2 separate regions of the Homo sapiens genome follow, and region 2 is linked to region 1. The links are contacts of gene promoters, found by promoter capture Hi-C in human tissues and cell types (Jung and others, 2019). All regions are on one chromosome and are shown on one strand. The core of a region is centred on a gene start or on the middle of the fragment in contact, and the rest is flanking DNA. Distances in the headings are between cores, read along the strand shown. Region 1 overlaps ACOT7 (acyl-CoA thioesterase 7). Region 2 holds the start of NOL9 (nucleolar protein 9).

What was found. The method cuts DNA at HindIII sites, captures the fragments that hold promoters and counts their contacts. A contact is called where the count stands out against the background at its distance.
Region 2: a contact is called between the fragment with the promoter of NOL9 here and a fragment that was not itself captured in region 1, in 1 of the 25 tissues and cell types used here (spleen).

Annotation. Positions count from the first base shown.
Region 1 is chr1:6,363,167-6,369,417 of GRCh38, reverse strand. The region is part of intron 1 of ACOT7 (acyl-CoA thioesterase 7); the gene reads left to right. Among named protein-coding and RNA genes, the nearest start is that of ACOT7, 27 kb to the left of the region's middle. RefSeq lists enhancers at 919-1,699, 4,372-4,871. The HindIII fragment of the contact is 3,740 bases long and covers 1,537-5,276 here.
Region 2 is chr1:6,551,483-6,557,733 of GRCh38, reverse strand. NOL9 (nucleolar protein 9) reads left to right here and starts at 3,221. Exons shown (of 12, transcript NM_024654.5): 1 at 3,221-3,627. The coding sequence starts at 3,232. TAS1R1 (taste 1 receptor member 1) reads right to left here and starts at 2,427. Exons shown (of 6, transcript NM_138697.4): 1 at 2,170-2,427. The coding sequence starts at 2,360. RefSeq lists a silencer at 3,256-3,515 and an enhancer at 4,910-5,410. The HindIII fragment of the contact is 18,414 bases long and covers 1-6,251 here.

The DNA of each region.
Region 1 (6,251 bases), core at 2,157-4,656:
AAAAAAAAAAAAAAAAAAAGAAATGCATTTTGTGGGGCTCTGGCTGCCATAGTGGTTCTTCTGATCTGGGCAATGTAAATTGAAAAATTTACATTGGAAAGCATTCACTATTCTAGAAGCCATTAAGAATATTTATAGACCAGGCGAGGTGGCTCACGCCTGTAATCCCAACACTTTGGGAGGTCAAAGTGGGTGGATCACCTGAGGTCAGGTGTTCGAGACCAGCCTGGCCAACATGGTGAAACCTCGTCTCTACTAATACAAAACGTAGCTAGATGTGGTGGCATGTGTGTGTAATCCCAGCTACTCAGGAGGCTGAGTCACAAGAATTGCTTTAACCTAGGAAGTGGAGAGGTTGCAGTGAGCCAAGATTGTGCCATTGCACTCCAGCCTGGGCAACAGAGCAAAAAAGAAAAAAAAAGAAAGTGGTTTCTTAAGATGGAATGTAGTCTTGGGGAAGATGCCATGAACATTGCTGAAATGACAAGAAAGTAATGGCAATGGTGGGCCATCTGGAGCAACCCCTGCCCTCACGCCAGGTGCAGTGGGGTGGTGCAAGCAGTGGTGGCAGGAGCAGCTGTGGGAGCAGCAGTGGCAGCAGCAGTGGCAGCAGTGGGTCCCCTGTGCCCTGCATTCCCCGGGCAGCTGACTGCACCGCCCCCATCCTTGCACAGCCAGGCAGGACCTGCTCCCAGGCCTGGAGCCTTGCCGCTCCAGACCCTGGCTCAGTGTCAGAGCTCTTACCCGCTCTCACTGTGGGGAGGGGTGTGCAGAGGAAATAGTCAGTCCCTGGAGTCTACCCCTGGGAGTCTCCCAGAGCCCACTGCCCTGGGAGCCACCACAACGGGGCCAGGCTGAGTTGCCTGCTGGTGGGGAAGCAGCATGATTGGGCATGGAGGTGCGGGCAGAGAGGGGCCCCAAGGTGGAGCTGGGCCTGGGGTGATGCTGCACCTGCATATGGAGTGTGGGGGCTGGGCCTGGGATGCAGAGCTTGGGTTATGCTTCAGGGCCCTGGGGCGGGAAGTGGGAGCGGCATTCACTTTGGGGACCTGGACTGCGGTGCAGCCACCGCACCCACCCTGCTGATGGTGCCCTTCAGACTTTGGGCACCAACAGGCATGGGAGGGAGGCCAAGTGGGGGCTGAGGATAGGCTGGCACAAACAGCCTGGATGCCATGAACAGTGGCGAGAGACAGACAGGCTCCTGGGTAGAAGGGGTCTGGTCCCCAGTGAAGCCTCACCTTCAAACTGGGGAGGGCCTGAAGCCTGGGGGTTGGCTGGCCAGTCCCGAGGACCAGAGGGGAAGCTTGTGGTGCTTTTTGCTGGCCCACCCATGGACCAGTCAACACACACTTCCTCCACTCTGAGGCCCATAAAAACCCCGGACTCAGCCAGACTAGAGCAGAGGACAGAAAGATGACAGGATGACCAGCTGCAAAGAAGAGCTACCCTCTCTGCTGAGAGCTGAACACTCACTGGGATGACCTGGCTGTGACTCAATAAAGCTCCTCTTTGTCTTGCTCACTCTCCATTTTTCTGCGTACCTCATTCTTCCTGGTCACAGGGCAAGAACTCGGGACCTGCCAAATGGTGAGGCTGAAAGAACTGTAACACAAACAGGGCTGAAACATGCCCCTTCTTGCCACGTTGCCAGTGAAGGGAAGGAAAGAAGAGCTGTGGCCCTTTGGGGAGTCCAGACCTGGGAGCTCCCTGAGTCAGGGTTGTGACTCCCTCTTTGGGGCCCTGCAGTTCCTGGCGTCACCAAGCTTCCAGGCACCACAGCATTCCCGTGTGCCAACCAGGCAAGCTGCTTGAGGTGCGCTTGGTCCAGGTGCAGCCTTGCAGAGAACCAGCACCTGTGCCAGCATCTGGAGCTGCCTGCCCTGCAGCAGCAGCTGGCATGTCTGACTGTGCAGTGGCCGTACTCCATGCTCACTCACACACTGCTCGCTGCTCCACACCAGGCTTGTCCTTGGCAGGCATGGGAGCTCCAGGCTGGTAGCATGAGCCAAGCGCAGCCTGCCAGGCTGAGTGGGTGGAATAAGCCCAGTGGGCCCCAGCAAAACTTAGGCAAAGGTGCCACAAGACACAGAGGTTTCTGGCCAGAAAAGGGATACCCCAAAGATCCCATAACAAAAGGATTTAGAATATTCCATAAACTTAGTTGATAAAACAACATAGGTTTTAAGAGGACTGACTCCACTTTTTTTTTTTTTTTTGAAATGGAGTCTCGCTCTGTCGCCCAGGCTGGAGTGCAGTGGTGCGATCTCAGCTCACTGCAAGCTCTGCCTTCTGGGTTCACGCAATTCTCTTGCCTCAGCCTCCCGAGTAGCTGGGACTACAGGTGCCTGCCACCATGCCCAGCTAATTTTTTTATATTTTTAGTAGAGAAGGGGTTTCACCATGTTAGCCATCATGGTCTCCATCTCCTGACCTCGTGATCCGCCTGCCTCGGCCTCCCAAAGTGCTGGGATTACAGGCATGAGCCACCGCGCCCGGCCTGACTCCACTTTTGAAAGTTCTACTGGGCTGGTCTAGGAGATCGAGACCATCTTGGCTGACATGTTCTCCCCATCTCTACTAAAATACAAAAAATTAGCCTGGTGTGGTGGTGCACACCTGTAGTCCCAGCTACTCAGGAGGCTGAGCCAGGGGAATCACTTGAACTCGGGAGACGGAGGTTGCAGTGAGCCGAGATCATGCCACTGTACTCCAGCCTGGCTGACAGAGTGAGACTCTGTCTCAAAAAAAAAAAAAAGTAAGTTCTACTGTGGGTAAAATGCTATCAAACATTGCATGCTACAGAGAAATCTTTTTTTTTTTTTTTATTTGAGATAGGCTCCCACTCTGTCACCCGGGCTGGAGTGCAGTGGTGCAATCACAGCTCACTGCAGCTTTGACCTCTTGAGCTGAAGGGATCCTCCCACCCTTAGCCTCTCAAGTAACTGGGACCACAGGCAAGTGCCACCATGAGTAGCTAATTTTTTAATTTTTATTTTTAGAGACAGCATCTCCTTATATTGCCCAGGCTGGTCTGGAACTCCTGGGCACAAGCGATTCTCCCACCTCGGGGTCCCAAAGTGCTGGGATTACAGACATGAGCCACCGTGCCTGGCCCAGAGAAATATTTTGTGGAAAGAAGGGTCAATTGATGTGGTCAATGTCATTGTTGTCTTATTTTAAGGAACTGCCACAGCCATCCCAGCCTTCAGCAGTCGCCATCCTAATCAGTCTGCAGGCCGGGCGGTAATCCCAGCACTTTGGGAGGCTGAGGTGGGCGGATCACCTGAGGTCAGGAGTTCAAGACCAGCATGGCCAACATAGTGAGACCCTGTCTCTACTAAAAATACAAAAAATTAGCTGGGCGTGGTGACGCGTGCCTGTAATCCTAGCTACTTGGGAGGCTGAGGTAGGAGAACCACTTGAACCCGGGAGGCAGAGGTTGCAGTGAGCCAAGATCGTGCCACTGCATTCCAGCCTGGGCTATAGAATGAGACTGTCTCAAAAAAAAAAAATAAACCCCAAAACAATATGAATCAGTCTGCAGCCATCAACATCGAGGCAAGACTCTGCCAGCAAAAAGAATACCACTCACTGAAGGCTCAGATGATTGTTAGCATTTTTTAGCAATAAATTTTTTTTTTTTTTTTGAGATGGGGTCTTGCTCTGTTGCCCAGGCTGGAGTGCAGTGGTGCGATCTCGGCTCACTGCAAGCTCCGCCTCCCGGGTTTACGCCATTCTTCTGCCTCAGCCTCCCGAGTAGCTGGGACTACAGGCGCCCACTACCATGCCGGGCTAATTTTTTGTTTTTTAGTAGAGATGGGGTTTCACCGTGTTAGCCAGGATGGTCTCGATCTCCTGACCTTGTGATCCACCCACCTTGGCCTCCCAAAGTGCTGGGATTACAGGTGTGAGCCACCATGCCCGATTGCAATAAAGTGTTTTTAAATGAAGGTATATACTTTTTTTTAAGGCATAATGCTATTATACACTTAATAGACTACAGTGTAACTTTTACGTGCACTGGGAAACCAAAAAAATCATGTGACTTATTATAAAGTGCAATGTGTGCTTTGTTGCGGTGATCTGGAACCAAACCCGTAATATCTCTGAGGTATGCCTGTGTGAGCCTGTGAAGCCTTCACCACAATCAAGACCGAGACTGTGAACAGACCTGTCACCCTGCTGAGGCCCTCTGCTTCTCTGGTCCCTCCCTGCCCCCAGGCAACCTCTGATCTGCTTTCTGTCACTATAGTTTGTGTTTCCTCCAAGTTTATAAACATGGACTTGCACAGTTCTCTTTTTGTCCAGCCTCCCTTGCTCAGCACGATTACTTGGAGATTCATCCACATGGTTGCATGTATCAGTTATTCATTCCTTTCCTTTTTTTTTTTGAGACGGAGTCTCACTCTTGTTGCTCAGGCTGGAGTGCAGTGGGGCGATCTCAGCTCACTGCAACCTCTGCCTCCCGGGTTTAAGCGATTCTGCTTCCTCAGCCTCCTGAGTACCTGGGATTACAGGCTCCCACCACCATGCCTGGCTAATTTTTTTTTTTTTTTTTTTTTTTTTTTGAGATGGAGTCTCGCTCTGTCCCCAGGCCGGAGTGCAGTGGCGTGATCTTGGCTCACTGCAACCTCCGCCTCCCGGGTTCAAGTGATTCTCCTGCCTCAGCCTCCCGAGTAGCTGGGACTACAGGTGAGCGCAACCACGCCCAACTAATTTTTGTATTTTTAGTAGGGATGAGGTTTCACCATGTTGGCCAGGATAGTCTCGATTTCTTGACCTCGTGATCTGCCCACCTCGGCCTCCCAAAGTGCTGGGATTACAGGCGTGAGCCACTGCGCCAGGCCAAATGCTGGGCTTTTTTTTTTTTTTGAGACAGAGTCTCTTGCTCTGTCACCCTGGCTGGAGTGCAATGGCATGATCTTGGCTCACTGCAACTTCTGCCTCCCGGCTTCAAGGGATTCTCCTGCCTCAGCCTCCCGAGTAGCTGGGATTACATGCATGCACCATCACGCCCAGCTAATTTTGTATTTTTAGTAGAGATGGGGTTTTTCCATGTTGGTCAGGCTGGTCTTGAACGCCCGACCTCAGGTGATCCACCTGCCTTGGCCTCCCAAAGTGCTGGGATTACAGGTGTGAGCCACCACACCTCGCCGATAATTGCTTTTAGATGTTACTTTTGTATTTTCCTAATGTCTAATGATGTTGAATATCTTTTCTTTTTTTCTAGAGGTGGAGTCTCGTCTTGTTGCCCAGGCCGGCCTGGAATTCCTGGGCTCAAGTGATCCTCCTGCCTCAGCCTCCCAAAGTGGTGGGATTACAGGTGTGAGTCACTGCATCTAGCCTTTTTTGAGACAAGGTCTCGCTCTGTCATCCAGGCTGGAATTCAATCTTGGCCCACTGCAGCCTTGACCTCCCAGCTCAAGTGATCCTACCACCTCAGCCCCCTGAGTAGCTGGGACCACAGGTGCAGCTGGGACCCCCTGAGTAGCTGGGACCACAGAAAACCCACAGGGTCGGTGGCTTTTCTCCCCATGTGGGGAGATGAGAGATTGTAGAAATAAAGACACAAGACAAAGAGATAAAAGACAGCTGGGCCCGGGGGACAACTACCACCAAGATGCAGAGACCGGTAGTGTCCCCGAATGCCTGGCTGTGCTGTTATTTATTGGATACAAGGCAAAAGGGGAGGGGTAAAGAGTGTGAATCATCTCCAATGATAGGTAAGGTCACGTGGGTCACATGTGCACTGGACAGGGGGCCCTTCCCTGCCTGGCAGCCAAGGCAGAGAGAGAGGGAGAGAGAGAGAGACAGCTTACGCCATTATTTCTGCATATCAGGGACTTTTAGTACTTTCACTAATTTGCTACTGTTATCTAAAAGGCAGAGCCAGGTGTGCAGGATGGAACATGAAAGTGGACTAGGAGCGTGACCACTGAAGCACAGCATCACAGGGAGACAGGCCTCCGGATAACTGCGGGCAGGCCTGACTGATGTCAGGCCCTCCACAAGAGGTGGAGGAGTAGTCTTCTCTAAACTCCCCGGGGGAAAGGGAGACTCCCTTTCCTGGTCTGCTAAGTGGCGGGTGTTTTTCTTTGGCACTGACGCTACTGCTGGAACCACGGTCTGCCTGGCAACGGGCGTCTTCCCAGACGCTGGCGTTACCGCTAGACCAAGGAGCCCTCTGGTGGCCCTGTCCGGGCATAACAGAAGGCTCGCACTTGTCTTCTGGTCACTTCTCACCATGT
Region 2 (6,251 bases), core at 1,972-4,471, 190 kb before region 1:
GGCTGGCCCAGTGGCTCACCTAGAATCCCAATGCTGTGGGAGGCCCAGGCAGGAGAATCACTTGAGACCAGGAGTTTGAGACCAGCCTGAGCAACACAGTGAGACCACCTTCTCAACAAAAAATTAAAAAATTAGCCAGGAGTGGTGGTGCATGCCTGTAGTCCCAGCTACTTGGGAGGCTGGGGCAGGAGAATCACTTGAGCTTCAATGAGGCCCAAGTAAGGCTGCAGTGAGCTATGATTGCACCACTACACTCCAGCCTGGGGGAAAGAGCAAGACCTCATCTCTATAAATAAACAAATAAACAAACAAATACATAAAGTGTGCTAGCCTGTTCCATTTTCCAGCCTCTTGCTTGTTAGAAGGTCTTCCATGGTTTCTACCACTTCTGTCCCGAGTCTCTCAACGGAGGGTTCGTGCCTCCTGCCTGAGACAATTCTTCAGGTATCTGAAGCCGGTTTTCATGTCTTCCCTCCTCCTGCTCTACCCAATCTCTCTTCCCAGCCCATTCTCTTTATCTCTTTATCCAGGTTTCTAGCTGTAGCCCTTCGAGTAGGTCGTCATACACTAGATTTCCAGAAACTTCTTCCTGAGCCAACCATCTCGTGTGCTTCATGGGTAGGACATCCTGCAGCCAAGCCTCGGCAGCATTCTTGGGCCTCTGGGTCTGTGACTTCCACAGTCTGCAAGCAACTGTCTTCGTCTTTTTTTTTTTTTTTTTTTTTGAGATGGAGCCTCGCTCTGTCGCCCGGGTTGGAATGCAATGGTGTGATCTTGGCTCACTGCAACCTCCACCTCCGGGTTCATGCGATTCTCCTGCCTCAGGCTCCTGAGTAGCTGGGATTACAGGTGCACACCACCACACCCGGCTAATGTGTTGTATTTTATGTAGAGACAGGGTTTCACTATGTTGGCCAGACTGATCTTGAACTCCTGACCTCGTGATCCGCCTGTCTCAGCCTCCCAAAGTGCTGGGATTACAGGCGTGAGCCACTGTGCTCGGCTGCAACTGTCTTCTTTAAAAGAAAAGCAGGCCGGGCGCGGTGGCTCAAGCCTATAATCCTAGCACTTTGGGAGGCCGAGGTGGGCGGATCACCTGAGGTCGGGAGTTCGAGACCAGCCTGACCAACATGGTGAAACCCCTGTCTCTACGAAAAATACAAAAATTAGCTGGGTATGGTGACACATGCCTATAATTCCAGCTACTCCCGAGGCTAAGGCATGAGAATCACTTGAGCCCAGGAGGAGGAGGTTGCAGTGAGTCAAGATTATGCCACTGCACTCCAGCCTGGATGACAGACTGAGTCTCCATCTCAAAAAAATATAGATAGATAGATAGATAGATAGAAATAAAAGAAAAGCAGTAGTTTCCCTCTACCTAGATTGTTGACTTCATGATGGCACCAACCTAATTTATATTTGTCAAGCTCCTAAAGCATCTAATGGGATGTGTCTTCCCTTCCCACCCCATGAAGAACCATGGAGAATCCTACTTGTCATCTGGGACTCTAGGGAACTTTGAACATGGGTAGGAGTGGAGAGAAGATAGAAGAGGGAAAAAGCGGCTGGGCGCGGTGGCTCACGCCTGTAATCCCAGCACTTTGGGAGGCCGAGGTGGGCAGATCACGAGGTCAGGAGATCGAGACCATTCTGGCTAACACGGTGAAACCCCGTCTCTACTAAAAATACAAAACATTAGCTGGGCGCAGTGGCGGGTGCCTGTAGTCCCAGCTACTCGGGAGGCTGAGGCAGGAGAATGGCGTGAACCCGGAAGGCGGAGCTTGCAGTGAGCTGAGATCGCGCCACTGCAGTCCCACCTGGGTGAAAGAGCGAGACTCCGTCTCAAAAAAAAAAAAAAAAAAAAAAAGAAGAGGGAAAAAGCTGCCCTTGCTTAGGCCTGGCCACCTAGGTATGGTACAAAGCCAAGAACCAATTTCAATGAAGTTACAATACAACACATTCTAACAGCAAGGGTGAAATAATTGGAAACTGGCCGAAGTGTCTAGGAAGGTCTAGCCAGCACTTAGGTGGCAAGTGGATTGATGAACAAGGCCTGGGGACAGTTCAAGGGGCAAAGGCAGAGGCAAGGTCCTGTTTGGAGGATGGCAGCCAGAGGGGCCCTATAGCCAGGGGTCCCACTAAGTGTGGCTCTGCTGGCCCCTCACTCACCTGTCACACAGGGTCACCTCGGGTCTGTGCCTCACCTGCAGACAGCCAGAATGGAGAGGGAACAGGCCTGCCAGGAGGTAATCTCCGGGGAGGGTGAAGTCAGGAGAAGACTCCGTGCTATGGCAGGCAAAGGCCCAGCAGCAGGAAATGAGAAGCTGCAGGCCGACCAGGCGAGCCGTGCAGAGCAGCATGCTGGCCAGATGCCCGCGCCTGGCATGGCCAAGGAGTGGCCTCTAAGGAGGCCAGTTGCTTAAATAGAAGGCAGCTGCCGGATGCTTCCTAACTTCAGGCCCCCAAAAGGGGTGGGACTGGAGCCCAGTGGCTGAAGCAGGACTGTTTGCCTTGACATTCCGGGCCTGCGGTCCCACTCAGGAACTGGGCAGGACGAAGGCACAGATGCAAACCAGGTGGCACCCAGTGACCCTTCCTCTGGACGGTTGTGGGTTCTGTCCACGCTCTGTGACTTCACCTGGCTTAGAAAAGGAGCTCTGGCATTTTGGGGCGAGGTGGGAGGCTGGAACACAATTTCTCCGGGTGTTGCGAGGTTTCAGAACTTTTTACCTGGGCCTCAGTTTACTAAATGAGACACAGCTTTGAGTCGACACCCCCCTGCCCCAGTCTCCAGTTTTCTGACATTAAGATTCTGAGCAAATTGTCATATACTTTCGCCTTGTTACCCAGGGTTGCTCACTTCGAAACAAATGCATGCAAACCGAAGGTATGCAAATAGACATGTTTTGTTTAAACTGCCAATCCTAAAGCTTTTTCTGCAGGAGAAAAAAAATATCCCGGTGTTTTTCCGGAGAGGTGGCCCATGGCTGGTCGCGAGGTTTCTGGCTTTCTCTCTCCGGCCGGCTGGGGTAGGGAATTTGCGTAACGTAAATGGAGTCCTCCGTGGAGCCCCTCGACCAGATCGGCTGGAACCTCCTAGTGTGCTTCCGGAGGTTGCCGGCAGAGGGCGCCGGCGGCTCGGAGGCCCCTCTTTTCGGCAGCTGGGAGGGCAGCGGGGCGGACCGACGGGATCTCGCGAGATTCTCGCGCGGTAGGCCCTGAGGACCCAGCATGGCGGACTCGGGACTGCTGCTAAAGCGGGGTTCCTGCCGTTCCACTTGGCTGCGGGTCCGCAAGGCCCGGCCCCAGCTCATCCTCAGCCGCCGGCCCCGCCGCCGGCTCGGGAGCCTGCGCTGGTGCGGTCGGCGGCGCCTACGGTGGCGGTTACTGCAAGCCCAGGCGTCCGGCGTGGACTGGAGGGAGGGAGCCCGCCAGGTGTCGCGCGCGGCGGCGGCCCGGAGACCCAACACCGCGACCCCCAGCCCGATCCCTAGCCCGACCCCGGCCTCCGAACCCGAGTCCGAACCCGAACTCGAATCCGCCTCGAGTTGCCACCGGCCTCTCCTCATCCCACCGGTGCGGCCCGTGGGCCCCGGCCGCGCGTTGCTGCTGCTGCCGGTCGAGCAGGTAGGTGGGGGGCGCCGGTAGTAGTCCCCGAGGGCAGGGAGGGCTGGAGAGGCAGCCCCGGGAGAGCTGCAGGGTAGGAGAGGACCGTGGTCCCCCGGGCCTGTTCTCTGGCTGCCAGTCGGATTCAAGTCCATCCTCTTGATGGTTGGTGGCAACTAGGCTCCCCTGAGCAGCAGGGTAACAGGTACCCTGCTAAGGGGTCCCTAGGCCTTACGAGCTAAAGGGACTTTATTTTGTTTTGTTTTCTTTCTTTCTTTTTCTTTTTGAGACAGAGTCTCACTCTGTCCCCCAGGCTGGAGTGCAGTGGCACAATCTCGGCTCACTGCAACCTCCGCATCCCGGGTTGAAGCGATTCCCCTGCCTCAGCCTCCGGAGTAGTTGGGACTACAGGCGCGTGCCACCTCGCCCGGCTATATTTTTTGTATTTTTAGTAGAAACGGGGTTTCGCCATGTTAGCCAGGATAGTCTCGATCTCCTGACCTTGTGATCCACCCGCCTCGGCCTCTCAAAGTGCTGGGATTACAGGTGTGAACCACCGCACCTGGAACTCTGAAAGGGATTTTAATAGTTAAAAAAAAAAAAGGTTGCAATTACTGAGAGCTCAGAAATTCCAGGATTTAAGGGTTCCAAAAGTGTTTTAGGCTTTGAACCCATTTAAACATCCAGCTCTCTTACGGAGTAGTTGTCCCTCTCTCTAAGTGTTTACAGACGAGGAGACTGAGGTTGGGTAACTTACACAGTAGAGGGAGAGCTAGGAGTCGAACTCAGGCAGCCTGATTCTTAACGTGGATGCCATTCCTGGAGATTCCCTGTCTAATGCAGGAGGGAAGGCAAAACCCAGGAAGTTCTGGAAGAGACTTGGCAAGCTGTGGGTCTTTAAAAGGACAGAGTGGTAGAGTCTGTCTGAACCAGGAGCACAGAGCCGAGTTCACGGTCACCATGCTTTCTCTGTAGCTGCCATGGGGTATGATCTTAGTTTAAAAATATAAAGTATGGGCCAGGCGCGGTGGCTCAGGCCTGTAGTCCCGGCACTTTGGGAAGCCGAAGCTGGCAGATCATCTGAGGTCAGGAGTTTGAGACCAGCCTGACCAACATGGTGAAACCTCATCTCTACTAAAAATACAAAAATTAGCTGGGCATGGTAGCACACGCCTGTAATCCCAGCTACTCAGGAGGCTAAGGCAGGAGACTTGCTTGAACCCGGGAGCTGGAGGTTGCAGTGAGCCAAGATCACGCCATTGCACTCCAGCCTGGGCGACAGAGTGAGACTCCGTCTCGAAAGAAAGGAAGAAAGGAAGGAGGGAGGGGAAAAGAAAGAAAGGAAAAGGAAAAGAGAGAGCTGGGCACAGTGGCTCACGCCTGTAATCCCAGCACTTTTGGAGGCTGAGGTGGGTGGATCACCTGAGGTAGCGAGTTCGAGACCAGCCTGGCCAATATGGCGAAACCCTGTCTAGTGGCTCACGCCTGTAATCCCAGCACTTTTGGAGGCCTAGGTGGGCGGATCACCTGAGGTCAGGAGTTTGAGATGTGGTGGCACACGCCTGTAATCCCAGCTACTCTGGAGGCAGAGGCAGGAGAATTGCTTTAACCTGGGAGGTGGAGGTTGTGGTAAGCTGATACTGTCCCAAAAATAAATAAATAAATAAAAATTAAATAAAATTAAAAAATTTAAAAGGCTGCAGCCATAAAAAGGGATGAGATCATGTCCTTTGCAGGGACTTGGATGGAGCTGGAAGCCGTTATCTTCAGCAAACTAATTCAGGTACAGAAAATCAAATATCGGCCGGGTGTGGTGGCTCACGCCTGTAATCCCAGCACTTTTAAGTTCCAGGGTACATACGCAGGGTGTGCAGATTTATTACGTAGTTAAATGGGTGCCTTGGTGGTTTGCTGCACAGATCAACACATCACCTATGTATTAAGCCCAGCATCCATTCTTCCTGACGCCCTTCCCCAGACCCCCACAGGCTCCAGTGTATGTTGTTACCCACCATGTATCCATGTGTTCTCATGGTTCAAATCCCACTGATAAGTGAGAACATACCATATTTTGATTTTCTTTCTTTTTTTTTGAGATGGAGTCTCGCTCTGTTGCCCAGGCTGGAGTGCAGTGGCGCAATCTGGGCTCACTGCAAGCTCCGCCTCCCGGGTTCACGCCATTCTCCTGCCTCAGCCTCCCGAGTAGTTGGGACTACAGGTGCCCGCCACCACACCTGGCTAAGTTTTTTGTATTTTTTTTAGTAGAGACGGGGTTTCACCGTGTTAGCCTGGATGGTCTTGATCTCCTGACCTTGTGATCCACCCGCCTCGGCCTCCCAAAGTGCTGGGATTACAGGCGTGAGCCACCACACCCGGCCGATATTTGATTTTCTGTACCTGAATTAGTTTGCTGAAGATAACGGCTTCCAGCTCCATCCAAGTCCCTGCAAAGGACATGATCTCATCCCTTTTTATGGCTGCAGCCTTTTAAATTTTTTAATTTTATTTAATTTTTATTTATTTATTTATTTTTGGGACAGTATCACTGTCGCCCAGGCTGCAGTGTACTGGCATGATCTCAGCTCACTGCAGCCTTTGCCTCTGGATTCAAGCGATTCTCATGCCTCAGCCTCTGGAGTAGCTGG